Regions from separate parts of the Homo sapiens genome. Here regions 1, 3, 4, 5 and 6 are each linked to region 2. The links are contacts of gene promoters, found by promoter capture Hi-C in blood cells and fetal thymus (Javierre and others, 2016). All regions are on one chromosome and are shown on one strand. The core of a region is centred on a gene start or on the middle of the fragment in contact, and the rest is flanking DNA. Distances in the headings are between cores, read along the strand shown.

Evidence for each region. The method cuts DNA at HindIII sites, captures the fragments that hold promoters and counts their contacts. A CHiCAGO score of 5 or more calls a contact.
Region 1: a fragment that was not itself captured here is called in contact with the fragment with the promoter of RXFP3 in region 2 in 10 of 17 cell types (fetal thymus, naive CD8 T cells, total CD8 T cells and 7 more); the score reaches 8.7 in fetal thymus.
Region 3: a contact is called between a fragment that was not itself captured here and the fragment with the promoter of RXFP3 in region 2, in 2 of 17 cell types (endothelial precursors and total CD4 T cells). The highest score is 7.1, in endothelial precursors.
Region 4: a contact is called between a fragment that was not itself captured here and the fragment with the promoter of RXFP3 in region 2, in 12 of 17 cell types (endothelial precursors, total CD4 T cells, non-activated CD4 T cells and 9 more). The highest score is 12.1, in endothelial precursors.
Region 5: a contact is called between a fragment that was not itself captured here and the fragment with the promoter of RXFP3 in region 2, in 1 of 17 cell types (endothelial precursors). The highest score is 5.5, in endothelial precursors.
Region 6: a fragment that was not itself captured here is called in contact with the fragment with the promoter of RXFP3 in region 2 in 3 of 17 cell types (endothelial precursors, naive CD4 T cells and activated CD4 T cells); the score reaches 8.5 in endothelial precursors.

The regions. Positions count from the first base shown.
Region 1 is chr5:33,454,753-33,457,482 of GRCh38, reverse strand. TARS1 (threonyl-tRNA synthetase 1) reads right to left here. Exons shown (of 19, transcript NM_152295.5): 5 at 2,417-2,538; 6 at 1,779-1,896; 7 at 1,417-1,481; 8 at 1,256-1,334; 9 at 80-226. Among named protein-coding and RNA genes, the nearest start is that of TARS1, 15 kb to the right of the region's middle. The HindIII fragment of the contact is 842 bases long and covers 989-1,830 here.
Region 2 is chr5:33,934,952-33,937,680 of GRCh38, reverse strand. It overlaps RXFP3 (relaxin family peptide receptor 3), which reads right to left and starts at 1,295. Exons shown (of 1, transcript NM_016568.3): 1 at 1-1,295. The coding sequence starts at 940. The HindIII fragment of the contact is 5,701 bases long and covers 1-2,371 here.
Region 3 is chr5:33,528,705-33,531,404 of GRCh38, reverse strand. The region is part of intron 23 of ADAMTS12 (ADAM metallopeptidase with thrombospondin type 1 motif 12); the gene reads left to right. Among named protein-coding and RNA genes, the nearest start is that of TARS1, 89 kb to the right of the region's middle. The HindIII fragment of the contact is 1,229 bases long and covers 752-1,980 here.
Region 4 is chr5:33,490,534-33,493,233 of GRCh38, reverse strand. No RefSeq gene overlaps it. Among named protein-coding and RNA genes, the nearest start is that of TARS1, 51 kb to the right of the region's middle. The HindIII fragment of the contact is 3,346 bases long and covers 1-2,700 here.
Region 5 is chr5:33,549,519-33,552,262 of GRCh38, reverse strand. The region is part of intron 20 of ADAMTS12 (ADAM metallopeptidase with thrombospondin type 1 motif 12); the gene reads left to right. Among named protein-coding and RNA genes, the nearest start is that of TARS1, 110 kb to the right of the region's middle. The HindIII fragment of the contact is 6,732 bases long and covers 1-2,744 here.
Region 6 is chr5:33,507,846-33,510,545 of GRCh38, reverse strand. No RefSeq gene overlaps it. Among named protein-coding and RNA genes, the nearest start is that of TARS1, 68 kb to the right of the region's middle. The HindIII fragment of the contact is 2,262 bases long and covers 188-2,449 here.

The sequences.
Region 1 (2,730 bases), core at 160-2,659, 480 kb after region 2:
ACTTCATGCAGCTGAATTTCAAACTTCAAATGAAGTTGAAGAAAACTCAGTCAAGACACATCATTGTTCTTGAACATACCCTGCCAATTTTCCTATGATCTCGGTTTTTAGCTTCCTCTTGGAACTTCTCCCACTCTTTCAACATTTTAGGATCTGGGAATGAAATGCCATAAATTCTCTGGAGAGTCTCCATATCTGCTTTGCCTTCCCAGTACGTGGAGGAATTCTGAAAACAAGGATTAACCATGAAACAACATTCAAATTTGTAAACATCTCACTTATTTTAACTCCCAATTGCTTTGAGGCCTTGTTAGAGTAGTTACTCATTCTGCAGCACAAAGTTGGCTGTTTTCTATCCTCAAAAATGCCCCTCCCTCAATCTGCAGGTGGGTGCAGTGGCTCATGCCTGTAATCCCAGCACTCTGTGAAGCCGAGGCAAGAGGATTGCTTGAGCCTGGGAGTTCGAGACCAGCCTGGGAAACACAGGGAGACCCCATTCTTTATTTAAAAAAAAGAAAATTACCCAGGCATGGTGGTGTGCGCTTATGGTCGCAGCTACTCAGGAGGCTAAGGCAGGAGGACTGCTTGAGCCTGGAGTGCAGTGGCACGATCTCCATTCACTGCAACCTCATTTCCCAGGCTCAAGTGGTCCTCCACTCTGTCTTTTTGGGGCAACAGAGTGAGACCCATTCTACACCCCAATACCCCCAAAACTGCCCACCCCTCAATACTCAACCACAATTCCACAAACATTACTTTGCCTGCAAAGGCATTTCTCACAAAATGAGCAAAAATAGAAATGAGCCAATAAAAAAAAAATCTTGAAATGACTCAATTATTCTCTTGATTTAAAGTGCATTTTAAAAACCTCCATAAAATGTTTATGAACTAGTATAAAACTGGGTTCTGTTAAAAACAACAACTTGGGAAATTATTAATTTAGACATATAAAGGGCAAAAGCACATACTCCCAGTGAGTCTCAAAGCTTTTATAGAGCCAGGATGGCCCATGCTGTATGATTTTGTAAAATCTCCATCCCCTGTGATTGCTCTGGCAATGACAGCAAGTCAGTCACCCCTTGAGGGATTTCAATTATAAAATCCTGATGGCATACAGCTCCCAGTTAATAGAGAGCATGAGAAAATACCATCCTTTCATGTGCAACAGAAAATGGTAAAGAGAAATCAGTGAAAGTTTAAACATATATCTATTCTAGACAGATACATTCACAGTCTTTAAAGTTACATTACTTACTTTGTGTATTTTTAAAGCCTTAATTTTGCCCGTGTGTCTAACATGAGGACCCCGGCAGAGATCTATCAAAGGGCCACATCTAAAGATAAAATGAAAGGAATTTTAACAAAGACAAAATGACATACATACCAGATACATTTAATGACATCTAATATTCTTACCTATAGACTGTGGTAGTTGGAGTATTCACCTTTTCATTCAATATCCGGCATTTGAACTTGTTGTACTGAAAACAGGAAAAATTATTATTTTAAAAAACTGTCCTTTAATTTTTACTTCTAAGTACTATAGCTAAAACGTAGCACTGTATGAATATAAATGTTGATACTTCATGTTTTAAAAACATGTTGAAGGAATGGTTTGCTAGGAAAAAAATGAAATTAAAAAAATAATAAAAACACTTAATTTTTGCTAAAGAACCAATTAGACTTCAGCTTAGTACACGGAACGCCAGTGGTGTCACTTCAACTAACATGAATAAATGATATTAACAGTGGGGGCCACGCACTATGGTTCAATTTACCTTAAACATTGCCAGTAAAGTTTCTTTCTTAACTTCCAGTCTTTCAAAAGCTTGTTTTTCTTTAATGATTTTCTTACACAAAGCCTCCAGAGAAGAGAAATCATTGCTAGACACACCCCTGAAGGAGAAGAAAGTATAATCTTTTCATTCCATTCGAATCACACCATGGCTTCGAAAAATGTTCATTTGGAAATAGTATTTGGAATACTTCAAGGGTTTTAATATTAAAAAATTAGACTATTGCATCGTATCTTAGAATTCTAAACAAAACATTTTTCATAAGTAATTTTTACATTTTATATTTTCAGTAGCTTCTACCTTGGTCATCCATGGAGACCTTTCTCACTAGTGACCCCTTCCCGCAACTCTATCACCAGGTTTTAAAGGAGAGGGGAGGACCAGTCTCCCTGAATTTCCCAAAATACCTTAGGACTCTACCTCCATCAATCTAGAACAGAGGTCTCATCAAATCCTCTATTACTTCAGGTAAATTGCAACACTTCAAGTACTGATAATGGGCATACCTGATGAAGAAGCAGTGAGATCTATATCATTCCTCCCTTACTGAGAACTCTTAAGAATAACTTATGGATCCATAGTCATTGACTTCAGTTTTCTTTATCTAGTTGATGGCTTACCCTTCTTCGAGGTACATGTCATAATAGAATCCATTTTCTATTGGCGGACCGTAGCATAAACATCCACCATAGACTCTTTCCATGGCTTCACCCATTATGTGAGCACTAGAGTGCCAATACACCTGAAAATTTAAAGAAAAATGGCATGGTCTGAGTCTTGGCATACAAGTTGCCAATTAATGTGGTTGTCTGAAAGAGACAGATGATAATATTTACTACAAGTAAACCCAATATATAAAATCCTAAATTTCTAAATCTATAAACTACTGTTTCTATCCATAGCCAAAGTAATTCAAAAGGCTTCCAATTACTAG
Region 2 (2,729 bases), core at 46-2,545:
TCGGGCGTCCTCCGGCTACCGCGGCCCCTCCTTTGGTCCCCGCCGCGCGGCGGTCGGCGATGAAGCGCACCAGCAGCAGGTAGCACAAGATAATGATGCCCAGCGGCAGCACGAAGCCCAGCAGCACCTTCTGCGAGTGGTAGAGGCCCAGCCAGAACTGCCTGTCGCGGCCCAGCAACTTGTCCGGGAAACGCACCAGGCACAGCTCCTCGCCCATCACCTTGACCGTGGTGGAGAAAATGGCACTGGGCAGCGAGGCCAGCGCGGCCAAAGCCCAGATCCACACACACAGCGCCTTGGCCGAGAAGCAGCAGCTGTCCCCCAGGCTCCGGCCGCAGCAGTCGCCCCGGCCGTGTCCTCGGGTCCGGTGGCTCTTCAGAGCCGAGGCCACCGAATGGTAGCGCGTCACACTCATGGCAGTGAGGAAGAACACGCTGGCGTACATGTTCATGGACGTCACCATGGACACGATCTTACACATGGCCTTGCCGAAGGGCCATTTGAAGTCAAGAGCGTTCTCCACCGCCCAGAAGGGCAGGGTGAGCACAAACTGAAAGTCCGTCAGCGCCAGGTTGGTGACGAAGAGGTTGATAGAGGACTTGCGCCAGCCCTGCATGCTCTTCATCAGGTAGAGAACCAGCAGGTTGCCCGCCAACCCCAGGGCGCACACCACCCAGTACACCACGCTGATGAGAATCCGCACCCGGGCCTCTGTGTCCGCGCTCTCTGCCCCGCCGCTGCCCGGGGGATGTCCTGGCGGCGCGCCGTCCGGCAACTCCAGCCCCAGCTCCCACCACAAGTCCGGAAGCTGCAGCGACGCGTTACCACTCGTGTTGGCCGCCTCCAGAAGGTCCGGGACCAGACTGAAGAGTTCTGCTAGCTTGTCCCCGCCTGCTGCCTTATTCATGGTGGCTATCGTGGCTGCATCGGCCATCTGCATGCGCAGGTACCTCTAGGTCATGTTCTGGGGGACAAGACCTAAGATAACACGGTTTACCCCAGTTTTGTTGCCAGGCTAGCCTGCGGGACGTGCGTGGGAGCTTTCAAAGCAGCTACTGAAGAGAGAGCCCAGGAACTGGGTACTAAGCGCGTCCTGGCGCGCAGCGAACGCCCTGGACGCAGGAGTTGAGCTCAGCGGCTGCTTTGGAGCAGAGTTGAGGAGTGCAGCCCGTAAGGCAAGCACTCGGCGTCCAAGGGTTCTCAGGCCAAGCTCGGAGTCCCTAGGTCCTTATGTACAACGCAGACTTCCCCTCTCCGTGTCCCGCGGTCACTGGGGCACTGGCGCATAACTCCCCCAGCCGCTCAATTGTGCGATTTGGGGCCGCTCGCTCCCTTTCAAATACCTTTATCCGTTTCCTCTGGGACTGCTTGGATGAGGTTTCCGTCCTTGGAGAGAAAGAGATCGTAGAGTTCCATCCACCACGCTCAGCTTCCTGGAGGTCAGTGGGTGTCTGCGTCTCTCCGCGGTTGTCAACTCCGGGTGGGTTGCCAGCGGCTCTCACCAGTTACGGTGGCACTTGCACGGCCAAGGCGGCGGGCCCCAAGGAGCATGCGTAATCCCGGGGCGCCGCGAGGGGCGCTTTCCGAGGTGCTGAACCCAGCCGCGCCCGCGCCGCGAGGGAGAGTTGAGCTGCAGGCAAAGCCCACCCGCCACTCCAGTTTTCCTCTCCAGAGTTTCAGCAGGAAGGGTCTTAAGAGTTTATTTTACAGCTGCAGGAGAAAGTCGGCTTTGACGTGAGTTTCTTCTTCCTTTCTTATTCCCAAACATTATGATTAGAAGTTTTTTTTTTCTTTCTTCCTCACTCCCACTTTTCACCGGAATTATTCCATTTGGTGAGGAATTGTTCTAAAAATATGAGCTATCCTGCTTACTTTCCTTCTTGAAAGTAATAACAGTGGCCTCTTTTCATGCTCAAATGAGATAATGGGTACTTATTGGATACACAAAGGACAGCTCCACCTCCCCTCTTTAATTAGCTGACCACTTACGCAGTACCTGTGTTTGTCAGGATTTTCAAAGGGTCTTCACATGGCAGAAGTCTGGGCTCAAGGGTTGCCCCTACTTTAATGTATTCTGAGAGGTGACACAAAAACAGAGCAAACAACTGATGGTCCTACTTCACAGAAATTAAATGCCCTAAGCCCAAAGCGCTTCAACAAATTGTTTGATCACATACAGGCCACAGTCTCTTTACCTAGATGCAAATAGAATAGAGGATACCACTGGGCTGATCGTGAACCACCAGCCCTCCTATTTCCATTACTGTTAGCATCAGGACTCTTTTTCAGGCGTTTTTCAGACCAATGGAAGTACATTCTAAGGACTCTTCCAAGGGAATGAGTGGAAACCACTTGAATTACTTCTCAAGCTTCAGTCTACATAAATGCCAGGTCAATCGCTCTGGTGTAAATTACACTTTTAGGATTTACTTTAAAATTTTGAAATGTTTTCCTCTTGGTCTGGGACTAAACTGAAACCAAAGTTTCTTAAGCATAATTGTCCTCACTCCTGGAGTACTACAGAACTCCCAGCTTTACTTAAGGAGATAAAGAGGATGCAACCTTCAAGCTGAGGAGATAAGAAACAGAAAAAGAAAGAAAGAGAAAAACGAAAAAGAAAGAAAGAAAGAAAGAAAGAAAGAAAGAAAGAAAGAAAGAAAAGAAAAGAAAGAGAAAAAGGAAAAAAGAAAAAAAAAGAAACAAGAAACAATCTTGATTCCAAAGGACTT
Region 3 (2,700 bases), core at 117-2,616, 410 kb after region 2:
TGGTAAATGCTTAATAATTTGTATCTGTGTTTTTTCTGCTTTCATGGAGGAAGGGGTATATTAGCTTCCTGGGCTACAAGCACACATATTCATGCTGCCATAACAAATTATAATAAACTAGGTGACTAAAGACAACAGAAATCTATTCTCACAGTTCTGGAGGCTAGAAGTCCAAAATCAAGGTATTAGTAGGGCCACAGTCATTCTCCCAGCTGCTGGCGGTTGCCGGCCATCACTGGCATTCCTTGGCTTACAGAAACTGAATTCCAGTCTCTGCCTCCATTACCACATGGCTGTCTTTCCTCTCTGTGTCTGTGTCTCAGCACGGCTTTTCCTCCTCTGTATGTGTGTCTCTCTCTGTGTCTCTTCTCCTCTTTTTATAAGGACACCACTCAGGTTGGATGAAGGGCCCACCCTAGTTCAGAGTGACCTCATCTTAACTGACATCATTATTCTATCTGCCAAGATCTTATTTCCAAATCAGATCACATTCACAGATACAAAGGGTGAGGACTTCCACTCTGGGGTACATTTCAAAGGATACAGTTCAACCCACAACCTTTGGGGGGCCTCCTAGAGGTCCTTTTTATAATGGCAGATACCTTTGCCCTTAGCAGAAGAGGCTTATGCTCAATTTACAGAGCAGGTCAAGAGAGAGTATGGTGCCGTGCCCGAGTGTGTAATACAATAATGCCTGTTTGGAGATGGAGACAGAGGGGACTCATGTGGGTCAGCGCTGCCAGAAGAAGCTTTGTGGAACGGTTGCTGTCAGCTGAGCCTCCACCCTTCCTCTGTCTTTCTCCTCCTGGCCAGCAACCCTAGAGCACTCACAGACACAGCGACGAGATTGTGGGGCAAAGAGCCGCCCCACCTGTGCCCTCTCCAGCCTCCATCCACAGAGACTTCAGGAGAGGCTGGCTAAGAAACTGGGGCGGCTTTGTGATGCTTGGACTGCCCTGCCAGGGGGCTTCCCAGAGCCCGGGAAGGAAGCCTTGCCTTGTTCCGATCAGCAGTGCACACAGTGCATGGCCCAGGTCCAGTGAACAACACCCACTGCTCTGCTGGGATGAGGGAGATGAAGAGCTGGAAGGGATATTCCACAAGAGACATGCTTGGTCAAAACATGTACTCTCTGAAGTTGAATTTTGAGGAGAAAATCTGAAACAAAAAGAAAAACAAGGCCAGGCACAGTGGCTCACACCTGTAATCCTAGCACTTTGGGAGGCCGAGGCAGGCAGGTCATTCGAGGTCAGGAGTTCAAGACCAGCCTGACCAACATGGTGAAACCCCGTCTCTACTAAATATACAAAAAAAAAAATTAGCTGGGCATGGTGGCACATGCCTGTAGGCCCAACTACTCAGGAGGCTGAGGCAGGAGAATTGCTTGAACCCGGGAGGCAGAGGTTGCAGTGAGCCGAGATTGTGCCACTGCACTCCAGCCTGGGAGACAGAGGGAACCGTCTCAAAATACAAAAACGTGTACTCTCTCTCTGAAACTCCCAAGGGTGTCAGGCAATTTCCTGTGGGGTTTTAAGAGAGACAGGGTTTTTATAAGAGGCTTAAAGAAGAGGCCTGAAGAAGGAAAGCTGAAGACTCAGATTTTGGAATCTAGGAGCATTATATGTTACCAATTCCTAAGGGCACTTAAAACTTCAGCACCAAACAGGACTCTGGAAGCTAACAGAAGACATTCATTTCTTCACAAAAATAAGGCACAGTTAAGAGAATAAGGAGTTCTGAGGAGATAAAAAGAATTTTTTGCCTTTATGATCTAAAGGTGAAAAAAGCATAGAGATGCAAAGATACTGTCGCAAATTTGGGGTGGAGAGGCTATTATTTCCATTTCTACTTTTCCTGACTGTTCCCTTTACAAAGGACAGCGGCCTGTTTATGAAAGTGCTTTTCTTCAGAACTATGAAAATATTTTCTCTGTAAAGGAGAAAGAAAGATGAGAGCTCCAAGAAGTACCTAAGGCAAGCTTAAAACAACTTCACTTTCTAGAAAAAAAAAAATCTAATTGAATTCTTAACAGACCTGGAACGTGTAGGCCAGTGCCATCTGAGAACCACCCGTACAAATGTGTGGGGGTGGTCCCTGAGCAACCCACTCTCGTTCCCTGACTCATGTATGGGAAAAGCAAGGCCAAGAAAATTAAAGGACACACTTTCCCAGAGCTAGTTAGAGGAGAACAAGGGTTAGAACTCAGGTGACTAATTGTATACTTACTCTGGGAATTATTTGTACATATCTTCTGCCTTCACCTCCATGGTAAAGTTCTGCAGGGCGGGGATCACAGTTTATGTCTGTATCCCTCACTCACTCTGGAAGCATTGGTTATTATTTTTTTTCTTCTTTTTTTGAGATGAAGTTTCACTCTTGTTGCCCAGGCTGGAGTGCAATGGCACGATCTCAGCTCACTGCAACCTCCACCTTCCGGTTTCAAGCGATTCTCCTGCCTCAGCCTCCTGAGTAGCTGGGATTACAGGCGCCCACCACCACGCCCAGCTACTTTTTGTATTTTTAGTAGAGACGGGGTTTCACCATGTTGGCTAGACTAGTCTCGAATTCCTGACCTCATGATCCGCCCACGTCAGCCTCCCAAAGTGCTGGGATTACAGGCGTGAGCCACCATGCCCGGCCCGGAAGCATTGGTTATTTTGCTGACGGGTTGTTGGCTTGACACTCTGAATAGTATGATTG
Region 4 (2,700 bases), core at 122-2,621, 440 kb after region 2:
GGTTCAAGCAATTCTCCTGCCTCAGCCTCCCAAGTAACTGGAATTACAGTCATGTGCCACCATGCCAAGCTAATTTTTTTGTATTTTTAGTAGAGACAGGGTTTCACCGTGTTTGCCAGGCTTGTCTCGAACTCCTGATCCCAAATGATCCACCCACCTCAGCCCCCCAAAGTGCTGGGATTACAGGTATGAGCCACTGTGCCTGGCTTGGGGTTACGGTTTTTAAAGGTTTTAGAGTGGGACAAAATATGGAGATCACCGACTGGTTGAAGAGTGCAGTATAGAGTCACAGGACAGAGAGGTGGAGAAACTGTATTCTCACGCTGATTTCATTTCTCTGGTTGGTGTCAGCTGTTTTGCTGTAATTCAGGATTTGAAAAACATCTTAAATAATCCTTACACAAAAGTTTTATGATTCTAACATCAGAAATCCTATCTATAGGAACAATGGGAATGCAAATGGTCAGTATCTAATGCTATGTGACTTTTGGTTACAAAGAAATGGGCCAAAGTGCAGCCCAATTGATGCTTAATCATAACTATATTTCTGTACAGAATTCTTGTTAACCTGATAAAGATGGCTTTAGTCAGCTTTCACAACAGTTGCTCCACTGGTCCAGGTTGGATGGGTTATTTCATTGTTTGAAGGTCAATGCTGCTCTCCAACTGGCCTGTTCAATATGACTCTATCCTTCCATATACTGGTAGTATCTTTCTTCTTCTGTCCCCTTAAACCTAGAGATGGTGAAAATTCTGTTGCTACTATCACTTGTGGTTCTCTTGCACCAGCCATACCTTTTTAACTAGTCCTTCTTGTAAATAAATCCCCCTCAAATCATGCAGGGTCTAATTATGCCATCTCTTTCTTTTTGGGACCAAGACTAATTAATGTACACTCATTAGGTACAAGTGAAACCACCTTTGTAAAGGTTATGACAGTAAGAGAAATCTAGCATGGCAAACTCCATCTTGCTTCCAGCTTCACATGCTGGCTGATCTCACTCATTTCTGGGCATAGGCCAAGCTAACCATGGGAAGAATTCAGTTTATAGTTTAACTTTGAAGCAAGGATAATTATAGTCCCTCCCTTAAACTAACCTCCCTCCTTGCTCAAGGACCAAAGCTGCCTTTGTAAAACAAATGAAAGGTCACAAGATTAGGACAATGGAAGGGGCCTGAATTCTGCTAAAATGTAAGCATAGTTCCTATAATCCCTTACAGTTCAAGAGTCATGTGGTCAGAGGTCACAAGATTTGTGAATTCCCCAGTTGCTCCTATAGATAATATCACTATTGTAGAACTTAAGATTGGTCTTTTGAGATGTTTTTCAGACTTTTGCATTCTGTCAGCTGATTGACTCTACCTGGACCCAGGACTCATGACTCAACCAGAATTGTGGCCCCTGCCTAGAGGTGGACTCAATGTGCAAGAACTGTTTTCCATACCCTTATGATTTTATCTCCAACCAATCAGCAGCACCCATTTCCTAGACCCTTGATCACCAAATTATCCATAAAATCTCTAGTTCTCAGGGAGACTAATTTGAGTAATAATTCTAGTACTTCTGCTTGGCTAGCTCTGCATTAATTAAGCTCTTTCTCTACTTCAATACCACAGTCTCAGTGTATCGTTTTTTGTCTATGCAGAGAGCAGAAGAACCCATTGGGTGATTGCATAGAAGGCAAGATGAATTCTCCCATCGCTTCCTGTCTATACTGAACAAGTTTTAGCCAGGACGAAGAAAGGGGATGTAAGGAAATACTAACAATAATATCTACTGATACTAGCCAGGCATTGTCAAATAAAAACTAAATCTGCACTTAGATAAGGAGAAATTTTATTTTTAAAGATTACTTCAAGAAGTAGAGCTGAGAGGAAAGAAGGGATTTTGCAATAGGAGGAGGGAGACTACTGCAACAGGGAGAAGTCTTCGACAAGATCTGCAAATTCAAGAGTTAGGCAAAATGGTAGGTCAGGCATGGTGGCTCATGCCTGTAATCCCAGCACTTTGGGAGGCCAAGATAGGAAGATTGCTTGAGGAGTTCAAGACCAACCTGGGCAATATAGTGAGATCCTATCTATACAAAAAAAATAATAATAATTAGCTGGGTGTGATGGCGCGTGCTGTAGTCCCAGCTAACTGAGCTGATTGGGGGGCTGAGTTGGGAAGGATTGCTTGAGCCTGGGAGGTCAAGGCTGCAGTAAGGTATGATTGTACCACTGAACTCCAGTCTGAGTGACAGAGTCAGACCCTTGGCTAGAAAGAATCTGGGGTGGGACAGAGGAATGAAAGAGTGAGGTGGCTAATCTGATAGTAGATCAGAGATTGCTTGACCCTGGAGCCAGCCTATTTTCAGAAGGTGCTGTTAAGAAGGAGTTGTATGCTAGCTCAGGCTAAGGATGGGTCAAATTCTGGGATCTAGGAGAAGGAGATAATCTTAACCAAAGTTTGATTAACAAGAACTTTGTTCAGATTTAGATTCCATGGTCACAAGCAGTTCAGCTAGTCATTTACGAGGCAGAGAATAGGAATTTAGAGGATCTTTGTCTGGCCTTGTCAAAGGTGAAAGAAACCAAATATCTCCCCTGAAAATATTTCTCCTGGGTATGATGAATATTTTAAATTAAAGGCCCTTAAAGATCAACAGAGAGCTAGAAAAGTCTTTTCCCCTATGTACATAAAGACCCCACAGATCTGCT
Region 5 (2,744 bases), core at 245-2,744, 390 kb after region 2:
GCTATACTTCTCTGAATACTCTGTAGAAGTTCAGCCTGGGAAGTGTACTAGGATTTCATAAATCAAAAATAGCACAAGAAAGAAAAGGTTTTGATTTCATTTTACCTCTGCCAGTGGCCCCAGTAAGCTAAGGATATTTTTCATTCTAACTCAATTTGCTGTGCAAATCACAGGAATTAAACAAACTGATGTAGTGATGTGGTAACTGGATACTATCAGACCTGTTTGGTTTCAACAGGGCATTTACCAGTCTTTCTGTTCTCATTAGCCTGCCTCTTGTCGTCAGTCTGGTTCGCAGGCTTTACATTAGGAAAACAGGAATACAAACGGCCTTCCTCTCAGGCAATAAGAAAATGAATATAACATAACAATTGTCATTCAGCACACAAAAGCAAAAGAGCGTTAGGACTGGAGTGACTTAATATGCTGTCACTTCCCTCTTGCTAACAGAATCAGAGGCTCTTTTGAAAATGGAATAGAATAATGATAGATTTAGTGAGTGTCTTCCCTTATTACTGACTTCAGCATATTAATAAATTTTATTTCCCACTGAATGTGCACATGCTCTTGACAAAAGAGTAATGCTAATTTGAAAAATAAATTTAGGAATAACAGATTATAGCAACAAATAGAAAATAAAAAAGTAAAATCTCATTTTATGCTTATGTCTTTTAAATCCCCTTTTCCTAATAAAAAGTACTCTTGTTTTAACTATGGGCTATTTCCTGGAAATTTATTTTGTCAGACAAATAGTTGCTTTGAGTGGAAGCTATTAGCATGCTTTCTCATTTGTTCTATGGCAAATTTTAAGTTTGCTGTTACTGTTTTTCTTTGTGTGCTTACTGTGTGGCAGGAAAACAAAGTTTTTAATTTGCACTTTTGGGAAGCTGTTGGCAAGTATTGCTTATTTCTGATAATCTAAACACACTTGATTTATGGAAGTACCAGAGCATCAATCTGTCCCCTCATCACATGGGCCCATGTGTTTCCAAAATACAGACCAATGTTTGAAGTCAGGTGACTTGGTGAAATCTGCCAATCAGAGGAATAAAGGGGAGCAGTATTTGGGGTCTATGTCTACTGAAAAGTCGTGAGGAATTTTCTTTCCTCAACCACAGCCCTAGAATCATGGCTATTCCACCATAGCCAGAAAGACAGCATGGTCTTTTACCCTTCAGAGAGAAGAGCCAGATGAAAATATACCTTACAGCAAGGGATACCCTTTCTTGGTGACTTGTTTCCTCAGCCAAGACTGCCAATGAGATCATTGATGGAAGGATTCAGAGGGTAAAGAAGCACATTCTTTATCCTATGATTACTGGAGATCTCTTTAGCCCACTGGGAGCCCTCCCAGCTGGCATTTTCTCATAATTCAATGTTGATTCAACAGCTTCATAATGGCCATCTACACTGTGTCTGTCCCTGTGCTAGGGATCCATGGTGTGATGCGGAACAGGGCAGGGCAGGGCAGGCTCTGCTTTCATGGCAGTGATGGATAGTAGAAAGGATGGACAAAATCAATCAAAGTTGCTCTGCAGTTTAGCTTTGTGGGATGAAAACAGAAGAGGAGCTGAGACAAATTACAAGAGAAATCACCTCCTTTAGATCAGGTATTCCATGAGAACCTCTCAGAAGAGGTGCCATTGAAAATGAGGCATTAAAAAAAAGCAGTGATGGGTAATGCAGAGAATAGAGGAAGGAACATTCAGGACATGGGAACCCCAAGGACATTGTATTAACCCGAGGAGAACCTGGGGAAGAACCTGGGCTGACGAGCACAGATGTTAGCCTCCATCCCACCTACCTCAGGTCCCCACCTCAGTGTGGGCAGTAACAAGACTGGTCAGGCCAGGTCTGGCCATGAGACACCAGGCTGCAGAGGGAAGATAAGCAGAAGGCCTATGGCAAGCACTAGAGTTCTAAACAGACCAGAGAGCAAGTCCTAGAAGCACAAGTTATGATCAGATAAAATCTTTGTAGGTCAGGGAGTGGGGAGCTGCCAAAATCCAAGAAGTCAGAGAGTCAACAAAAGCAGCACTCTGGAACAGGCTGTGCAAACTTGGTTGTAGGTGACCCAGACCCATCAGTGTTTATCACGGTCCAAGGGAAATCAGCAGCCTGCTGGTGAACCTGGGCTGCTGCACAAGGGGTGGGGTCAGAGAGGAAGGGAGTGAGTAGGGCCTGTGTAGTGGCTATCGGGGGCAAGTGCTGAGAAGACTCTCAGTGATGGCTGCACGTGATGGTGCTGCAGGAGGAATGGTGACGGTGGAGGCAAGGACAGTGTTTGCTCACACCCATGAGTCAAACCACTGAGTAGTTAATTCAGTTTATTTCCCTACTCAAGGCCCTTCATGAGAGAGACATAGTAACCTATTCTGCATCCAGCATCATAGAGAAAACCAGTATTCTGAAGGAAAGACGGACAAGGCTTAGCAGCCATGCCCACTCCTGGGAAGGGATAGGCAGGCCACTCTGCCTCTAGTGAATACTGACTTCCAGACGGAATGGCCACCCACTGGGGCAGATGCTGTGCCAGCAGGCACTCCAGCCCCAGGGTCTATAATCTCCCCACAGCTGGGAGGTAGCAGTTATGATCCCAGTTTAGAGATGGGACACCTGAGGCTCAGCGTACTTCAGTGACAGGCCCAAGGGCTCAAGACTAGCGAGTGGCAGAAACACTCCTATGCATGTGTTTCCCGACATCGGGAGCTGCTGGGGTGCCTCCTGCTCTGTGGTGTGGGAGG
Region 6 (2,700 bases), core at 69-2,568, 430 kb after region 2:
TCATACAAGAACCAATTCAAAATGAAATAAGATGTAAACATAAGACCTAAAACTATAAAATTACTGGAAGAAAACATAGAAAAAGCTCCATGACATGGTCTGGGCAGTGATTTTTTGGATATGACCCCAAGAGCACAGACAACAAAAGCAAAAATAGACAAATGGGATTGTGTCAAACTAAAAAGCTTCCGTACAACAAAGGAAACAATTAATAGCGTGAAGAGACAAGCCCCAGACTGGGAGAAAATATTTGTAAATCATTCATAAGGGGCTAATTAATATCCAAAATACACAAGGGAAATCAAACTATTCAATAACAAGAAAACAATCTTACTTACAAATGGGCAAATGACTTGAATAGACATCAAAAGAAGATGTACAGATGGCCAATAGATACATATTTTAAATGCTCAACATCTGTAACAATAAGAGAAGTGCAAATTAAAGCCACAATGAGCTATATCACCTTATACATGTTAGATAGGCTATCATCAAAAAGATGTAAGATAACAAGTGTTGGTGAGGTTTTTGAGAACAGGCAATCTTTATACACTGTTGGTGGTATTATAAATTAGTACAACCTTTTTGGAAGACAGTATGGAGGTTCTTCAAAAACCTAAAAATAGAATTACCATATGATCCAGCAATCCCACTACTAGGTATATACCCAAAGGAACTAAAATTAGTATGTGGAATAGATATCTGCACTTCTACATTTATTGCAACATTATTCACACTAGCCAAGATGTGGAAGCAACCTAAGCATTCATCAATGAATGAATACATTTTTATTTTTTTATTTTTTGAGATGGAGTCTCGCTCTGTCGCCCGGGCTGGAGGGCAGTGGCGCGATCTCGGCTCACTGCAAGCTCCGCCTCCCAGGTTCACGCCATTCTCCTGCCTCAGCCTCCCGAGGAGCTGGGACTATAGGCGCCCACCACCACGCCTGGCTAATTTTTTTTTTTGTATTTTTAGTAGAGATGGGGTTTCACTGTGTTAGCCAGGATGGTCTCGATCTCCTGACCTCGTGATCCGCCCACCTCGGCCTCCCAAAGTGCTGGGATTACAGGCTTGAGTCACCGCGCCCAGCCTGAATGAATAGATTTTTAAAAGGTGGTATACATACATACAATAGAATACGGTACTATTCAGCCTTTAAAAAAAGAAACGAACAACAACCAAAAAAAGCAAGAAATTCCGTCATTTGTGACAACATGGATAAACATAGAGGACATTACATTAAGTGAAATAAGCCCAGGCACAGATACTGTATGATCTCACAGCATGTGGAATCTAAAACATTCAAACTTACAGAAATAGAGTGGAATAGTGGTTACCAGAGGCTGCTGATTGAGTTCCTTGAAGCAAAGGTTTAGAGACTCTGGTGATGTTTTTCATACTCAGAGTGTCCTATCAATAAGGGCATGCATGAGCATGACCTGAGTATTTTGCCAGACTTCCTTAGTGGTCCAGATAGTGGCTGGTCCAGGGAGAGATCCAGCCTATGCATGGACTGCTGTAGTGATGAGACTTTTGAAGTACATATCAAATCATTGGGCTTTAACTCTCAATACTTTTTCAGATCCTTGGCGGGAGAGGGGTGGGAAGGCCAGCTACAAAGCAACCTAGGGTTCCAATAAGGATCTGAGCAGTTAGGATTTAATTCTCAGTGATGCCACATCAGGAAGTAGAGGGTTGTGGCTAGATAGTTTTAAAAAAAATTGAAGAATTGGAAATTTGGTAACAGTTGGCAATGAATGGAAGATGACAGGATTCAGTTCAATTTACAGGTAAGTAACATGTTAACATATTTTGGAGATTTTTTTCATATTCATTAGTTACCTACAATTAACAAAGAGATGTTATATAGCTCAAAAACTATGAATATGATCAGAATCTGATAATCCACAATAGTGTGCTATAATTTTCTATGAAAAACAAAATTTTTCTCAACAGTTACCCTTTTATGATCAAAGATAATCCCAAAGAAAAAATGTTCTTGATTATAAAATAGGGCCGATATCATTAGATTTGGCCTGATCGTTTACATAAATACAGCAAGAAAGGTAATTTATACCATAATAGACCTTTTTTAGTTTGCTTTACTGAAGTTTTTCATAAGGAATCTGAGATTAGACTTCTAAAAGCACGTCAAGGCTAGGAAGCCATGCCAAGAACTCACTACCAGACTTTACCTGCAGTAGCTTTAGATTTGGATGAACTCCTGTCTTCTCAAGGTTTCCAAAATATTGTAAAGTTCCTGGGCCTGCCAGGATGTGACCTTCCTTACTCACCTATAAGGCTGGGAACTCTGTAAGCCAAGTACCAGGCTGGGTTTTCCCAAGAGAGTTTTGTAGGCATTAGCTACATAAAATCAGCCTTAGCTACTAACAGTTGATTCTATGTTTCTATGATCATCATTCTCAAATATGACACTTCAGTCAAAGCTTTGGTTTATATAACCAATGTTTCTAATTATTTCCTGTTAACAAAGGGGTCAGACTCATTGAATCTATGCAGAAAAATTATGTTGTCATGAAATAAAAATATAAGAATTTGCAAATTCTGGAAGAATCAAGCCAAGGAAAAAATATAATTGTTTCAGTTCTGTTTACAAAAGTATAATCTACTAAATTGTTATGCATTACAAATAATGTAGAAGAAGAGAGAAGGAGGGTCCTTATAATCAAAACATAGAAC